3 separate regions of the Homo sapiens genome follow, and all the other regions are linked to region 2. The links are contacts of gene promoters, found by promoter capture Hi-C in blood cells and fetal thymus (Javierre and others, 2016). All regions are on one chromosome and are shown on one strand. The core of a region is centred on a gene start or on the middle of the fragment in contact, and the rest is flanking DNA. Distances in the headings are between cores, read along the strand shown.

Region 1 (4,462 bases), core at 592-3,091, 180 kb after region 2:
TTTTAAGACATAGAAAATCTCTATTTAGTAGATTATTATATTTTTCATTATCAAGCAAAGTGAAAACTTTCAAAAACTTGGTCCTATTTGAAGGAACTAATATATATCTCATTACAAACCTCATATACATCAAATTTGACAGTGACCACAAAGCGGCAGTTATAATTGAATAAAGTGAAATTACATGAGAGAGTAGCAGGGTTACATGCCTATTAAAGTTAACTACTAGAGATAGTAAATAGATGATATAATGTTAGGAAACATCATGGTAGAAACAGAATAGCACAGATGGTATTGTGCCATTTAACAGAACTGTATGAATCCCTTTTATAATTTAATTTTGTTTTCCTATTTCATTTTACCATGAAAATTTCAAGCATACATCAAAGTTGGAAGAATTTTGTAGTAACACCAGTGTACCCACATGTAGATTCTACCATTAACATTTGACTCTTTTATCACATAGCTGTCCATTTGTCTGTATCTCTCTGAATACATCAATTCTTATTTCCTTTTGATGCTTTTAAAATTCAATTGCAAACAAAATACTTCAGCATGTATATCATTAACCAGATTTAACATTTGTTTATGGTATTATTTTTTTTTTTTAATATGTAGAGTCTCATTCTGTTACCCAGGCTGGAGTGCAGTGGTGTGATCTCGGCTCACTGAAACCTTTGCCTCTGGGTTCAAGCGATTCTCATGCCTCAGCCTCCCAAGTAGCTGGATTACAGGCTTGTGCCACCACACCTGGCTATTTCTTTTGTATTTTAGTAGAGACAGGGTTTCACCATGTTGCCCAGGCTGGTCTCGAACTCTTGGCCTCAAGCTGTCCACCTGCCTTGGCCTCCCAAAATGCTGGGGTTACAGGCGTGAGCCACCGTGCCTGGCCTATGGTATTTTTTGAGGTAAAATTTAATACCATGAAAAACACAAATCTTAGTTGTACATTTGCTGAGCTTTGACAAATGCCCTTCTCAAGATAAAGGATATTACCATCCAGAGAATTCTTTCATGCCCTTTCCCAGTTATTCTCTGCACCCTTCCCCTACCAGGGCAACCACCGTTCTGATTTTTTTTCAAACACAAATTAGGTTTTGCCTGTTCCAGAACTTCATATAAATGGAATTCCATTGTCTGTATGGATCCTTTTGCTCAGCATATTGATTTTGAGATTTATCCATTTTTGTATAGGTTGGTGCAAATGTAATTGCGGTTTTTGCCATTATTTATCCACCTTCCTATCAATGAATACCTGGACTGTTTCCAGCTTCTAGCTATTGTGAATAAAGCTGCGATGAATATTCTTGTACAGGTCTATTTATGGGTACATGTTTTCATTTTTCCAGGGTCTAGGAGTAGAATTGCTGTACCCTAGGATTAATGTATGTTTAGTTTTACACTGAACCTTCTTCCAAAATGGTGGTAGCATTTCATTCGCCTGCTAATGTTGTGTAAGAGTTCCAGTTGCTCCATACCCTTGCCAACTTTGATGTTATCAACCTTGTCAGTTATTTAACTTGATTTTAACCATTGTCACTTGTAAATGATTGGATGAAAAGTTATACCTATTAGTAATTGTTAGTTTTCTGGGGAAGAATTTAAAAAGTTGTACAGATTATTTTTTAGTTCTAATCATTTCTTTTCTTTTAGTTTTTTAAATTTATTTTTAATTTTTTTAATTTTTTGTTTATTTTGACATATAGTGAGACTTACAGAAAGTTGCCCAGGCCACCCTCCAGCATTTGACACTATTCACTAGTTTTGTAATTTAAATGGTCTCTTCCTTTGGCATAGGAGAAACCATTCTCTCTTGGTTTTTCACCAACTGCTCACCTTAGCTTCTTTGCAGGATTTTTATTTTCTACATACTGCTTAAATGTAGTTGTTGCCAGTTCTAGCCTTGATCCTCTTACTCTATAGAATCTTACTGGGTGATTTTACGCTCACCCAAGGCTCCAACTGCCACCTGTGCTTTAATCCCGAAATCTGCTTCTGCAGCATAGATCTCCTTCCCAACTCTAATTGCTAACATATCCACTTGGATGTCCCACAGGCATCTCAGACTCAATTTATTTAGGTGAAATTTATTTTCCTTCCTCCCATTTACACACTGCTCTTCTTCCTATATTTTCTAATTTGATAAATAACCTGCAGTCCATCCAGTTACTTAAACCACAACTGAGGGGCTAAATCTGGACCCTTTCCTCCTGCAGCCATTTGATCATCAGTTCCTGTGGGTTTTTCTCTTGTGTGTTTCTCTAACATTTCTGCTTCCATCTCTGCACTCGCAGCTGACATCCTACTATCGGGTGCTGCCCCTCAGCCCAATTTGTCAATGTTGATTGACTTGCTTTATTTTTTAATAACTTACTCGGGTTTTTAAATTACAAAAATGGCATATGCCACTTGTAGAAATTAAAGCAAAAATGCATAAAATTTCTAGTACCCCACCTCCAAATTCGTAAGCCATTCTTTTTCCTTGGAAGTCACCAATGTTAATACTTGGGTATACATCCTTCCAGATTTCCCTTGCTTTCACATACAAATACACACACATAGATAAACACGTATGCGCATAGACACGTTTATTCTTTTCAAAACAGAATTGTACAATACATATTGTCTTATGGCTTGCTTTCAACTTATTGTGTATTTCATGTCAATATATAGACAGCTACCTGAAATTGATGCAAAGTATCAATATAACATAATTTATTTAATAATTCCTAATTAGTGGATAATGAATAATGCTATAGTGACCATTTCTTTACATATTGGTTATTTTTGCTAGTGTTTTGTTGCATAGATTATTAGAAGTAGCATTATACCCATTTAAAATTTTGTTAAATCCTGCCAGTTGTCCATCAAAAAAAGGCACGTTTTTAATCTCCTGTGGTGCCAGAGGCCTTCTCTCTGCCAGTAGTAGATATTTGCTAATCTTCTAACAGTTTTTAGTTTTTGCTAACTTACCAGGAAAACTCAATATAGTGTTGTGATGATTTCAGACCAGAATAGTTCTTATCATAGGCCTGTGACCGTCTTCAGCATTTTTTCAATCTCATTCTCTGTTTTGATTAGGTGACTTTTAGCTCTTAAAAAATGAAGTTGCCAGGCGTGGTGGCTCATGGCTGTAATCCCAGCACTTTGGGAGGCTGAGGTGGGAGGATCTGTTGAGCCCAGGAGTTCAAGACCAGCCTGGGCAACATAGGGAGACTTTGTCTCTACGAAACATAAAAAAATTAGTTGGACCTGACGGAGCATGCCTGTAGTCCAGCTACTTGGGAGGCTGAGGTGGGAGGATCACTTGAGCTTGGGATGCTGAGGCTGTAGTGAGCCATGATCAGGCCGCTGCAGTCTAACCTGGGTGACAAAGTGAGACTTTGTCTCAAAAAAAAAAAAAAAAAAAAACAAAAAGAAAAAAGAAGATGATGATGGTTGGAGATGTGTTTTCTTACCTGTGTGTGTTTCTGCTGGCAGGAGAAACTTCTTAAGTCTCAGCGTAATCTCGTGGCCAAGATGAAGAAAGTCATGCATTTACAGGATGTAGAAGTGAAGAACGCCACACAGTGGAAGGTAATGGCAGAAGTGGTTGGATATTTCTTGCTCCTGAGGTCCTTTTGGTCTGGGACATTTCTTGCTTCTGAGGTCCTTTTGGTCATGGGGTTTTGCAGTTCACGTAGAGTCTTGGATGCCTCAGAACCTCTGTTTCCTCCATATCATGTGACTGAAAGAAGAGCTTTCTGGGTGTCAGTTCAGTTGTCAGGCCCCTTGTAGATACGGGGATAGGAGAGGAAGTACCTGTCCCTGCTGCTAGTGGCTTTGGGTGATAATGAGTTCCGCATACTTCATCCCCATGTCTCTACTTTAAGGTAGCACCCCTCTCCTTCCTACTTTTTCCTAAATATACTCCCTAGGTTAGAGTCGGTTTGGGCCCATGGCATTGTGGAAAGAAACAGATGAATGGATGCACACACACACGCACACACACACACACACACACACACCCTCACACTCCTAAAGATTTGGTAAAACTAAACGAGTTCTGAAGGCTAAACTAAGTAGTAGATGTGAAAGTTTGTTTTAGTTTAAAACTTGTCAGTAGTAGAGACTGAAATGTTAGGAAGAATGAATGAATACTATAATGACTAGACAGAGCTATCAAGTAGGTATAAATAAAGGAGTAATGGAAATTTTAGTGGGGGTGGGCAGGAGCTTTTCAAGAGGGTTTGATTAGGATTGACTGTGGATTACTGGGGAATTGTGTAAGGAATTTAGTAGCTGGGGTCAGGCAGAAAAAGGAGTGAGCAAATCTCATGTGGCCTTAGGATAAGATAAAGAGTCAGCGAATGAGAATCAGCACGGAGTTTTCAAAGCTGCACAACTTCCTGGTTGAAGAAGAGGACCTGTTTCTTCAGAGATTGAACAAAGAAGAAGAAGAGACGAAGAAGAAGCTGAATGA
Region 2 (4,618 bases), core at 565-3,064:
TTGGAGATTAAATGACTAAGCCAGAGTCACAGCTGGTAAGTGGCATCTGGCATTCCCCAATAGAGGAGTGTCACACAGTAAAAGGTATAGCGACAATCATGACAGAGTAGGCATGGAGTATTACTCACATCTGTGTGCTTGGTCATAGGGTTCAACTTCAGAAAGAGGGGGCTCTCGATGATCTCACACACCTGGAAGAGAGGGACAATGCACAGGAAGTCAGTGCCCCCTACCTTTCTCCTTCCCCTCATTCTCCATTCTCTGCCCCAGCATGCACAGGTGTGAGCATGCATACCTGCTTATGGACGTGGATGTCCGAGGGGTCAGGTGGCCCCCCTGTGGTATACCAACCCAGAAACTCCAGCTCCTTGAACACCTGTTTAACTAGAGGGGAAGGGGCCAGAACATATAGTAATTCTTTTTTTTTTTTTTTCTGAGACGGAATCTCGCTCTGTTGCCCAGGCTGGAGTGCAGTGGCATGATCTCAGCTCACCACAACCTCCGCCTCCCAGGTTCAAGCAATTCTCCTGCCTCAGCATCCCGCGTAGCTGGGACTACAGGCACGCACCACCATGCCAGACTAATTTTTGTATTTTTAGTAGAGGTGGGGTTTCACTATGTTTGCCAGGCTGGTCTTGAACTCCTGACCTCATGATCCACCCACCTCGGCCTCCCAAAGTGCTGGGATTAGAGGCATGAGTCACTGAGCCCGGCCTGACATAGTAATTCTTTAAACCATCCTTCCTCAATGTGAAGCTCCTGGTGTATTTTCACCAGCTTCTCTCCTCCCTCCTCAAATCCTGGCTCAGTTTAGAATAACTACTCCCTTCTATCCTGTCTCCTCTCATCCTTTGCTTTCTTTTGAGAAAGAACTCTGAACGTTTTCTTTTTCTGAGATCTCTCCAGCTACTCTTCACTTTTTCTCCCCTGTTCTTGGTCTCCTCTCCTGTTTCTTTCCAACCCTCTCCATCTTCCCCACCCTGTACATTTTTTTTTTAACTCCCACTCCTCTTCCCCACATCTATTCCACTCTCACACTGCTCCTCCTTGGTGTAATAATATTCCTTGTCAATGATAATCTTCTCTTCCACGGTGTGGGACAGCAGCTCAAAGGAGTTCATCACCTCGATATTTCGGCCCTCCTGCTTGCCAATCAGAGCCCCAATCACTGGGAAAGAGAATGACATGGAAAAGGTGAGGGTAAAGAAACTTCTATGACCTGAGGGTCTGAGATCAGTGGGAACCATGTATTGGGGAAACGATGATTTGGGGGAGGGGGAATTGGCTCCAGTAGAGGAAGGGGAAAAGACCACTGCCTGGGGGAGGTGAGCAAGGAGAAGAGACTGGAGTCTATGCCCAACACTCACCCTGCACAGGCCGCCCCTCCTGGGAGCGCATGCGGATCCAGTGGTCTGAGATGTTGAGAATGACAAGGGGATGGAGAGCGACGGAAACACTCCCAGTCACTCCGCAGGCCATCACGCTGGGGACTACTAAGGGTGGAGGGAAAGGAGAGAGGGTGAGAGTCCGGGCCCCACGTTCTTCCCTGGAGATGGCAGTGGGGGACGGCGGAGCCCGGGCCACACTTTCCTCCCGTAACTTATCCCAGGGAAAGATGTTGCTGCTCCGCCCTCCTCCCTTCTCCCGGGAGCACAGGGAGGCCTCAACGAACCCCTGAAGGAGGTCTCCGGAAGCCACCCCCGCACGGCCCGTTACCTGCTGCATCCACCTCCATCCCGCTGCTTCCTCCGGTCCCGTTCGTAGCTGCAGCCGCCGCCGCCGCCGCCGCCATTTTCCCCGCGCCCGCCAGCCTCGGCCCCGCCCCCTTCCTTCCCGGCTTCCGTAAGGCGAGCGGCGCATGTTCGGTGTCCCCGCGGCGTGCGGCGGGCCTGGCGTCCGGGGAGCAGGCAGTTCCCGGGTCGCGGCGGGCGGCACTCGGTGCGGGGACGCCCGACGCCCTCTGGGCCTCGGTGCCTAGCGGGTTTTCCCAGACCCTGTCCCCGCCTGTCGCCTGCGGGTGACCTTTGACAAATTAACGACTTGATCGTCCTCGTCTGTGAAATTGGGATAAGAACGCCTAGTTCTTAAGGCTGTTGCAGAAGGAATGACATGTCGTGTTATTTCCCTCACAATAAAATCCAAACAACTAACCACAACCTGCAAGGCCCTGCCTGATCTGGCCCCGGCCTGGCCTCTTCTAGCCCTTGATCTTCAGGCTTCAGCTGCACTGGCCCTCATGTCTGGTGGTGGTGGTGGTTTGTTTTGTTTTGTTTGAGACAGGGTCTCGCTCTGTCGCCCAGGCTGGAGTGCAGTGGCCTGATGTCAGCTCACTGCACCCTCAAACTCCTGGGCTCAAGTGATCCTCCCAGTTCAGCCTCCCGAGTAGCTGGGACTACAGGCGCACCCCACCGCACCCAGCTAATTTTATTATTTGTTTTTATTTTGATAGAGACGGGGGTCTCACTAGGTTGTCCAGGCTGGTCTCCAACTCCCGGGCAGAAGAGATCCTCCATCCTCAGCCTCCCAAAGCACTGGGATTACAGGCATGAGCCACCGCACCCAGCTCTCCGTGTGTTTTTCACATGCTTTAGTTTCCCATTCAAAAGCCTGTGGTTCCTTCTCTTGTTCATCATGGTATCCCCTGTGACCAACACGGTGCCTGACACATTGGAGCCTAGATACTTTTTGAGTGAATGAAGGAATAATTAGGGGTGGAATCTGGTGTTGAGTTAGTTGCTCCATCTTGTGAAAGTTGCAGATACCAGGACAAAATCACATTGTCAGGTCCAAACAAATTGGAGCCATGAGAACACCAAGGAGAAGGTCTCATGCTTGCATGTCTGAGATAGGAATTATCTCAAGGACTTTCGAAAATAACCCCACAAGGCCAGGCATGGTGGCTCACACCTGTAATACCAGCATTTTGGGAGACCGAGGCCAGACAATCACTTGAGGTCAGCAGTTTGAGACGAGCCTAGCCAACATGGTGAAACCCCATCTCTACTAAAAATACAAAAATTAGCCAGGCGTGGTGGCAGGCGCCTGTAATCCCAGCTACTCAGGAGCCTGAGGCAGGAGAATTGCTTGAACCCGGGAGGTGGAAGCTGCAGTGAGCTGCGATCGCGCCACTGCACTCCAGCCCGGGCAAGACAAAGTGAGACTCCATCTCAAAAAAAAAAAAAAAAGAAAGAAAGAAAGAAAGAAAGAAGATAACTCCACAAGGCCAGGCATGGTGACTCACGCCTGTAATCCTAGCACTTTGGGAGGCCAAGGTTGGAGGATCACTTGAACCCAGGAGTTTGAGACCAGCCTTGGCAACATGGTGACACCTTGTTTCAACAAAACATGGAAACAAAATTCGCTGGGTATGGTAGAGGCATGCCGAGGAAATTTATGCTTGGGAAGTGAGTCAAAACTCCCTTCCTTTTTGTTCCCAGATAGCTGTAATTCCACAACCCTGTGTCATAGCCTCATACATAAGCCAGGCTCCTACAATGGCAAAAGGCATATACCTCCCCAGATGGTCTTCCTCACAAATTGCTTGCCAGGAAATTCCTCATTAGCCTCTGAATCTTTCAGCATAAACATTCCCCCTATAAACCAGCCCTAATCCGAGTTCTGTGAAATCTCATACTGACAATGTTGATTACAAGCTTATCTTCCCAATTATAGAACAAGGAAGAGACCAGGAATCATCCCTCCACCTATCCTGAGACAGATGCATAACTGACTTTTTCCTCCACTCCCTCTTTTCAAATGTTTATTGTATCTTACATAAAATGTAGATTTACTGAACACTAATGAGAAACTCACAAAAAAGTAACAATGTGCAGCAGGGTGTGCAGTGGCTCATGCCTGTAATCGCAGCACTTTGGGAAGCGAGTGGATCACTTGAGGCCAGGAGTTCAAGACCAGCCTGGCCAACATGGCAAAACCCCATCTTTACTAAAAATACAAAAATTAGCTGGGTGTGGTGGTGCCCACCTGTAATCTCAGCTACTTGGGAGGCTGAGGCAGGAGAATCACTTGAGCCTAGGAGGTGGAGATTGCAGTGAGCCGAGATGGACCCACTGGACTCCAGCCTGGGCAACAGATTGAGACTCTATTTCAAAAAATAAAATAAAATAACCATTTGCTGGACTGGGTGCAGTGGCTCACGCCTGTAATCCCAGCACTTTGGGAGGCCGAGGCAGGCAGATCACAAGGTCAAGAGATTGAGACTATCCTGGCTAACACTGTGAAACCCCGTCTCTACTAAAAATACAAAATATTAGCTGGGCATGGTGACACGCACCTGTAGTACCAGCTACTTGGGAGGCTGAGGCACAAGAATCGCTTGAACCTGGGAGGCAGCGGTTGCAGTGAGCCGAGATTGCGCCACTGCACTCCAGCCTGCTGACAGAGCGAGACACTGTCTTAAGAAAAACAAAACAAAACAAAACAAAAAACATTTGCCTCACTGCCTCTCCTTCTTCCTTATTTTCCTCTTGCATGCTTTCTTCCCTTAAATACTGAGTTCCTGGCCAGGCACAGTGGCTTATGCTTGTAATCTCAGCACTTTGGGAGGCCGAGGTGGGTGAATCACCTGAAGTCAGGAGTTCAAGACCAGCCTGGTCTC
Region 3 (4,682 bases), core at 1,822-4,321, 160 kb after region 2:
CTCTGACTCTTAATGGCTCAAAATATAGTGTCTTGCAGTTGGTGAATGATGACATATTTCTCTGGTCAATTGAGACCCTTAGAATTGTCCCTGGGACTCATCTCAACCCATCCTTCTGACTGAGACCACAGGGGAAGTCCAAATTACAGGGAAGATAATTTGGGGAACAAATCCTTGAAGAAGCAGGAAAGATGAGACCCAAGGACACAGATTTGGAAGGCAGAGTAAACTTGGATAACTGTAGGTCCACTTCTTTCTCTACAATGTTAGAAAAGGAAGTAAATATTAAGATAAGAGAAAGTAGTATCTGTGGGGTTTCACATCAGTGTCTCTATTTTCTCTTTGGAGTAAGAGGTTTTCGTGGTGTCTTAGTCTGTTTGGGCTACTATAACAAAATACCTTAGAGAGGGTAATTCATAAATAAGAGATATTTATTTCTCAAAGTTCTGGAGGCTGAGAAGTCCACGATCCAGGCACCAGCAGATTCAGTGTCTGGCAAGGGCTTGTTCCTCTTAGATGGCACCTCTTGTGTATCCTCACACAGTGGGAAGGGATGGAGGGGCTCCCTGGAGCATCTTTTATAAGAGCACTAATCTCATTCATGAAGGTTCTTTCCTCAAGGCTTAATCACCTCTGGTTTGATACAGTTTGTTTGTTCCCACCAAATCTCATGTTGTAATTTAATCCCTATAGTTTGATGGTGTTGGGAGGTGGGGTCTAGGGGGAGGTGTTTGGGTCCTGGGGGCAGATTCCTCATGAATAACTTGGTGCCATTCTTGTGGCAGTGAGTGGGTTATCGCTTCTGTGAAACTGGATTCATTCTTGAGGGAATGGATTAGTTCCCTCAAGAGTGGGTTGTTGTAAAGCCAGGATGCCCCTTGGGTTTGGTCCCTCTTCCCCTTTGACCTTCCCTGCCATGTTTTGACACAGTATGGAAACCCTCAACAGAAGCTAAGCAGATGTGCAGGCTGCAGAGCTGTGAGTCAAATAAACCTCTTTATAAATCACCCAGCCTCAGGTTCTCCTTTGTGGCAACACAAAATGGACTAAGACACTTGGTAAGGGCTCCACCTCTTAGTACTATCACACTGAGTACAGCACTTCCACCTTTCCACCTCTTAATACTATCACATTGAGTACAGCACTTCCACCTTATCTGTGGGAGATATGTTCCAAGACCTCCAGTGGATGCCTGAAATTGTGGATAGTACCAAACTCCATATATACTATGTTTTTTTTCCCCATATGTACATCCCTATGATAAAGTTTAATTACAAATTAGCACAGTAAGAGATTAACAACAATAACTACTAAGAAAATAGAACAATTGTGGCTGGGCATGGTGGCTCATGCCTGTAATCCCAGCACTTTGGGAGGCCGAGGCAGGTGGATCACAAGGTCAGGAGACTGAGACCATCCCGGCCAACATAGTGACCCTGTTTCTACTAAAATACAAAAAATTAGCCCGGCGTGGTGGTGCGCCCCTATAGTCCCAGCTACTCAGCAGGCTGAGGCAGGGGAATTGCTTGAACCTGGGAGGCAGAGATTGCAGCGAGCCAAGATCGTGCCAGTGCACTCCAGCCTGGTGACAGAGCGAGAGTCCGTCTCAAAAAAAAAAAAAAAAAAAAAGAAATAGAACAACTGGAACAATTGTAACAATATGCTGGCATCACTACTCTTGCTTTTTGGGGCTATTCTTAAGTAAAATAAGAGTTACTTGAACGAGTATTGATAGTTGATCTGATAACCAAAATGGCGATTAAGTCACAAACCAGCAAGGAGCGTCTACAGCGTTGGATACCCTGGACAAAGGGATGATTCACATCCTGGGTGGGATGGTGTGAGATTTCATAGTGCTACTCAGAACAGCACACAATTTAAAACATTAATTTTGTATTTCTGGAATTTTCCATTTAATATTTTTGGACCTCTGTTGACTGTGGGTAACTGAAACTGTAGAAAGTGAAATCGCAGATAAGAGGGGGGACTACTGTATTAGGTTCTAGCATATGCATCTTGATCATCATTCAGACCATACCACATGGTCTTCTGAGTGTGAGGGTAACCAGATGAGTGAGAATTTAGGCTAAATGGGGACGGTTTGAAACAGCTGCTGGGCATTGGGGAAGGCAGCTGATTAGGACAAATATAGAGATGGTGAACTTGGGCTTGTAGCATTGTGGTATTTTGGCTGGGGAACAGAGGGATTTCTGAAACTTATCCTTGATCATGGTCGCCTGTCACCATGAGGGAGATAATATGCCCAAGGAACAATGGCAAGTGGGGGTCAAAAATCTGAATTTCTATCTAGTCAGTTCTGGCTCTGGCCCCAAATCCTATAGTATGTAATTCTGGTAAATTCTGCTGGGTTACCTTCCAAATGTTCTCTTCTTCCTCAGCTTGTAAGGCCTAAGAGCATCAGACTAAAGCAAGCCTCGATGCTTGCTCTGTTCATTTCATCCATCACATCTAGCCCCATAACCTAACTACCTCTCAACTTTACCACTGTGATGGGAGAAGAGGACATCCAGACACACCTGTGATCATCCAAGGGCATGGAGGAAGAGAAAAGAAGACCGCAAGAGAATGCACATTCCCTCTCAGCATCAGCACTAATTTGCTTAAGATGATGCTGTAGGAGCACCAGGCCTGGCAGCCATCAGCTGGGGAAGCAATACCTTTCAAAGGAAAATTAACAAAACATCCCAGTCTACTCTCTTACGTTCAGCCTTTGGGAAAGAGAGACGGAGGGAAGGAGGGAAAGAGAGAGATGAAGATGTATCCTGGTCTCTCCAACCTGAGAGTTCCTCTCCACTCCAGCAGTACAGAAGGGGAGGGCAGAAGAGAGAGCCACACCACACACACTCACTGTTATTATTTTACATAGATGATTTCATTAAGTAGTAAAGAGGTGCAATCAGAGTCTTGGTATTTAATCAGTCAGATACTTGGAGAGGAATAAAAAAGCTTGCCTTCAGTGATCCTTGGATTAGGAGTGACAAGGTGGACTGGAGCTCCCTCTGAAGGACAGTGAACAACACTGATCTCTTGTCCTCTGCTCCAAAACAGGATGTGTGGCAGGTTCCTGCGGCGGCTGCTGGCGGAGGAGAGCCGGCGCTCCACCCCCGTGGGGCGCCTCTTGCTTCCCGTGCTCCTGGGATTCCGCCTTGTGCTGCTGGCTGCCAGTGGGCCTGGAGTCTATGGTGATGAGCAGAGTGAATTCGTGTGTCACACCCAGCAGCCGGGCTGCAAGGCTGCCTGCTTCGATGCCTTCCACCCCCTCTCCCCGCTGCGTTTCTGGGTCTTCCAGGTCATCTTGGTGGCTGTACCCAGCGCCCTCTATATGGGTTTCACTCTGTATCACGTGATCTGGCACTGGGAATTATCAGGAAAGGGGAAGGAGGAGGAGACCCTGATCCAGGGACGGGAGGGCAACACAGATGTCCCAGGGGCTGGAAGCCTCAGGCTGCTCTGGGCTTATGTGGCTCAGCTGGGGGCTCGGCTTGTCCTGGAGGGGGCAGCCCTGGGGTTGCAGTACCACCTGTATGGGTTCCAGATGCCCAGCTCCTTTGCATGTCGCCGAGAACCTTGCCTTGGTAGTATAACCTGCAATCTGTCCCGCCCCTCTGAGAAGACCATTTTCCTAAAGACCATGTTTGGAGTCAGCGGTTTCTGTCTCTTGTTTACTTTTTTGGAGCTTGTGCTTCTGGGTTTGGGGAGATGGTGGAGGACCTGGAAGCACAAATCTTCCTCTTCTAAATACTTCCTAACTTCAGAGAGCACCAGAAGACACAAGAAAGCAACCGATAGCCTCCCAGTGGTGGAAACCAAAGAGCAATTTCAAGAAGCAGGTGAGAAGGACACGCTCTCTTCCTGTCACTGATGTTTGTGTCCTGATGATCTCCTCCCGGGGCAGGTCCCTCACCTTTCTGGGAAGTACAACTTCTGCATGTTACAAAGTAGGTAACCAGGTTCTAGGCAGATGTGTTCTGACCGCCACTCCCAACCCTTTTCTTTGTTCTCTCTTGCTCTCAAAATCTATCCCAATGTCCATCCCCATCAACTTGATGGTTCCTTCCAGCGAACAAGGACAAGAGTGCTAGTCCGTTGTCCCTCCTGAACTTCCATTTAGGTCTCTCTCCACTTAGGAAAAATCTCAGCTTCTTCTTGATTCTCTACTTTGCAGAGTTATAAAGACACCTGACTTGCCTGAAGGAAACTCTGTGATTGAATCTTCTTTCCAACATCCAGTGAGTGGGGATTCATGTCTGTGACAAATTAGAGGCTGTTGAAGGATCTCTAAGGGCCCCTTGGGCCATGTAGTCTAAAGCATTTCCTGACTGTGCCTTTTCACTGGAATTTTCTGGTGTCAGCATCACAATTTTTATGGGCTTGGTTCAAGAGTCAGCCGGGAGAAGCCTCCCTAAACTGTGTCTCTCCCCTGTCCTGCTCAATAAATATTGATGACTGCTGTTGGCATTCCTGTTGCTGAAGATAATGCCCCTTCCTGTCTCACTGGCTTCATTTACCTCTTTTCTGTTTTTCCACATTCTCTGCTCCCCTTATCATCAAAGTTTTGTAAATGAATGCCCCTCAGACCTGCAGCACATGTCATAAGCCAGAAACTCTGGGCTTCAAGCATATATAAGTCAGTGTCCTCTAATATCTATAGATTTATCCAA

Evidence for each region. The method cuts DNA at HindIII sites, captures the fragments that hold promoters and counts their contacts. A CHiCAGO score of 5 or more calls a contact.
Region 1: a fragment that was not itself captured here is called in contact with the fragment with the promoter of COPS6 in region 2 in 1 of 17 cell types (naive CD4 T cells); the score reaches 5.2 in naive CD4 T cells.
Region 3: the fragment with the promoter of GJC3 here is called in contact with the fragment with the promoter of COPS6 in region 2 in 4 of 17 cell types (naive CD8 T cells, M0 macrophages, non-activated CD4 T cells and 1 more); the score reaches 6.8 in naive CD8 T cells.

The regions. Positions count from the first base shown.
Region 1 is chr7:99,908,679-99,913,140 of GRCh38, reverse strand. TRIM4 (tripartite motif containing 4) reads left to right here. Exons shown (of 6, transcript NM_033091.3): 2 at 3,481-3,576; 3 at 4,329-4,462. Among named protein-coding and RNA genes, the nearest start is that of TRIM4, 8.6 kb to the left of the region's middle. The HindIII fragment of the contact is 9,956 bases long and covers 1-4,462 here.
Region 2 is chr7:100,086,165-100,090,782 of GRCh38, reverse strand. COPS6 (COP9 signalosome subunit 6) reads right to left here and starts at 1,814. Exons shown (of 10, transcript NM_006833.5): 1 at 1,717-1,814; 2 at 1,368-1,493; 3 at 1,037-1,168; 4 at 296-384; 5 at 129-191. The coding sequence starts at 1,792. RefSeq lists enhancers at 217-1,416, 923-1,614, 3,001-3,694 and a silencer at 1,765-1,954. The HindIII fragment of the contact is 8,452 bases long and covers 1-3,655 here.
Region 3 is chr7:99,928,009-99,932,690 of GRCh38, reverse strand. GJC3 (gap junction protein gamma 3) reads left to right here and starts at 3,071. Exons shown (of 2, transcript NM_181538.3): 1 at 3,071-3,851. The coding sequence starts at 3,071. RefSeq lists enhancers at 2,688-3,272, 3,273-3,858. The HindIII fragment of the contact is 6,133 bases long and covers 2,970-4,682 here.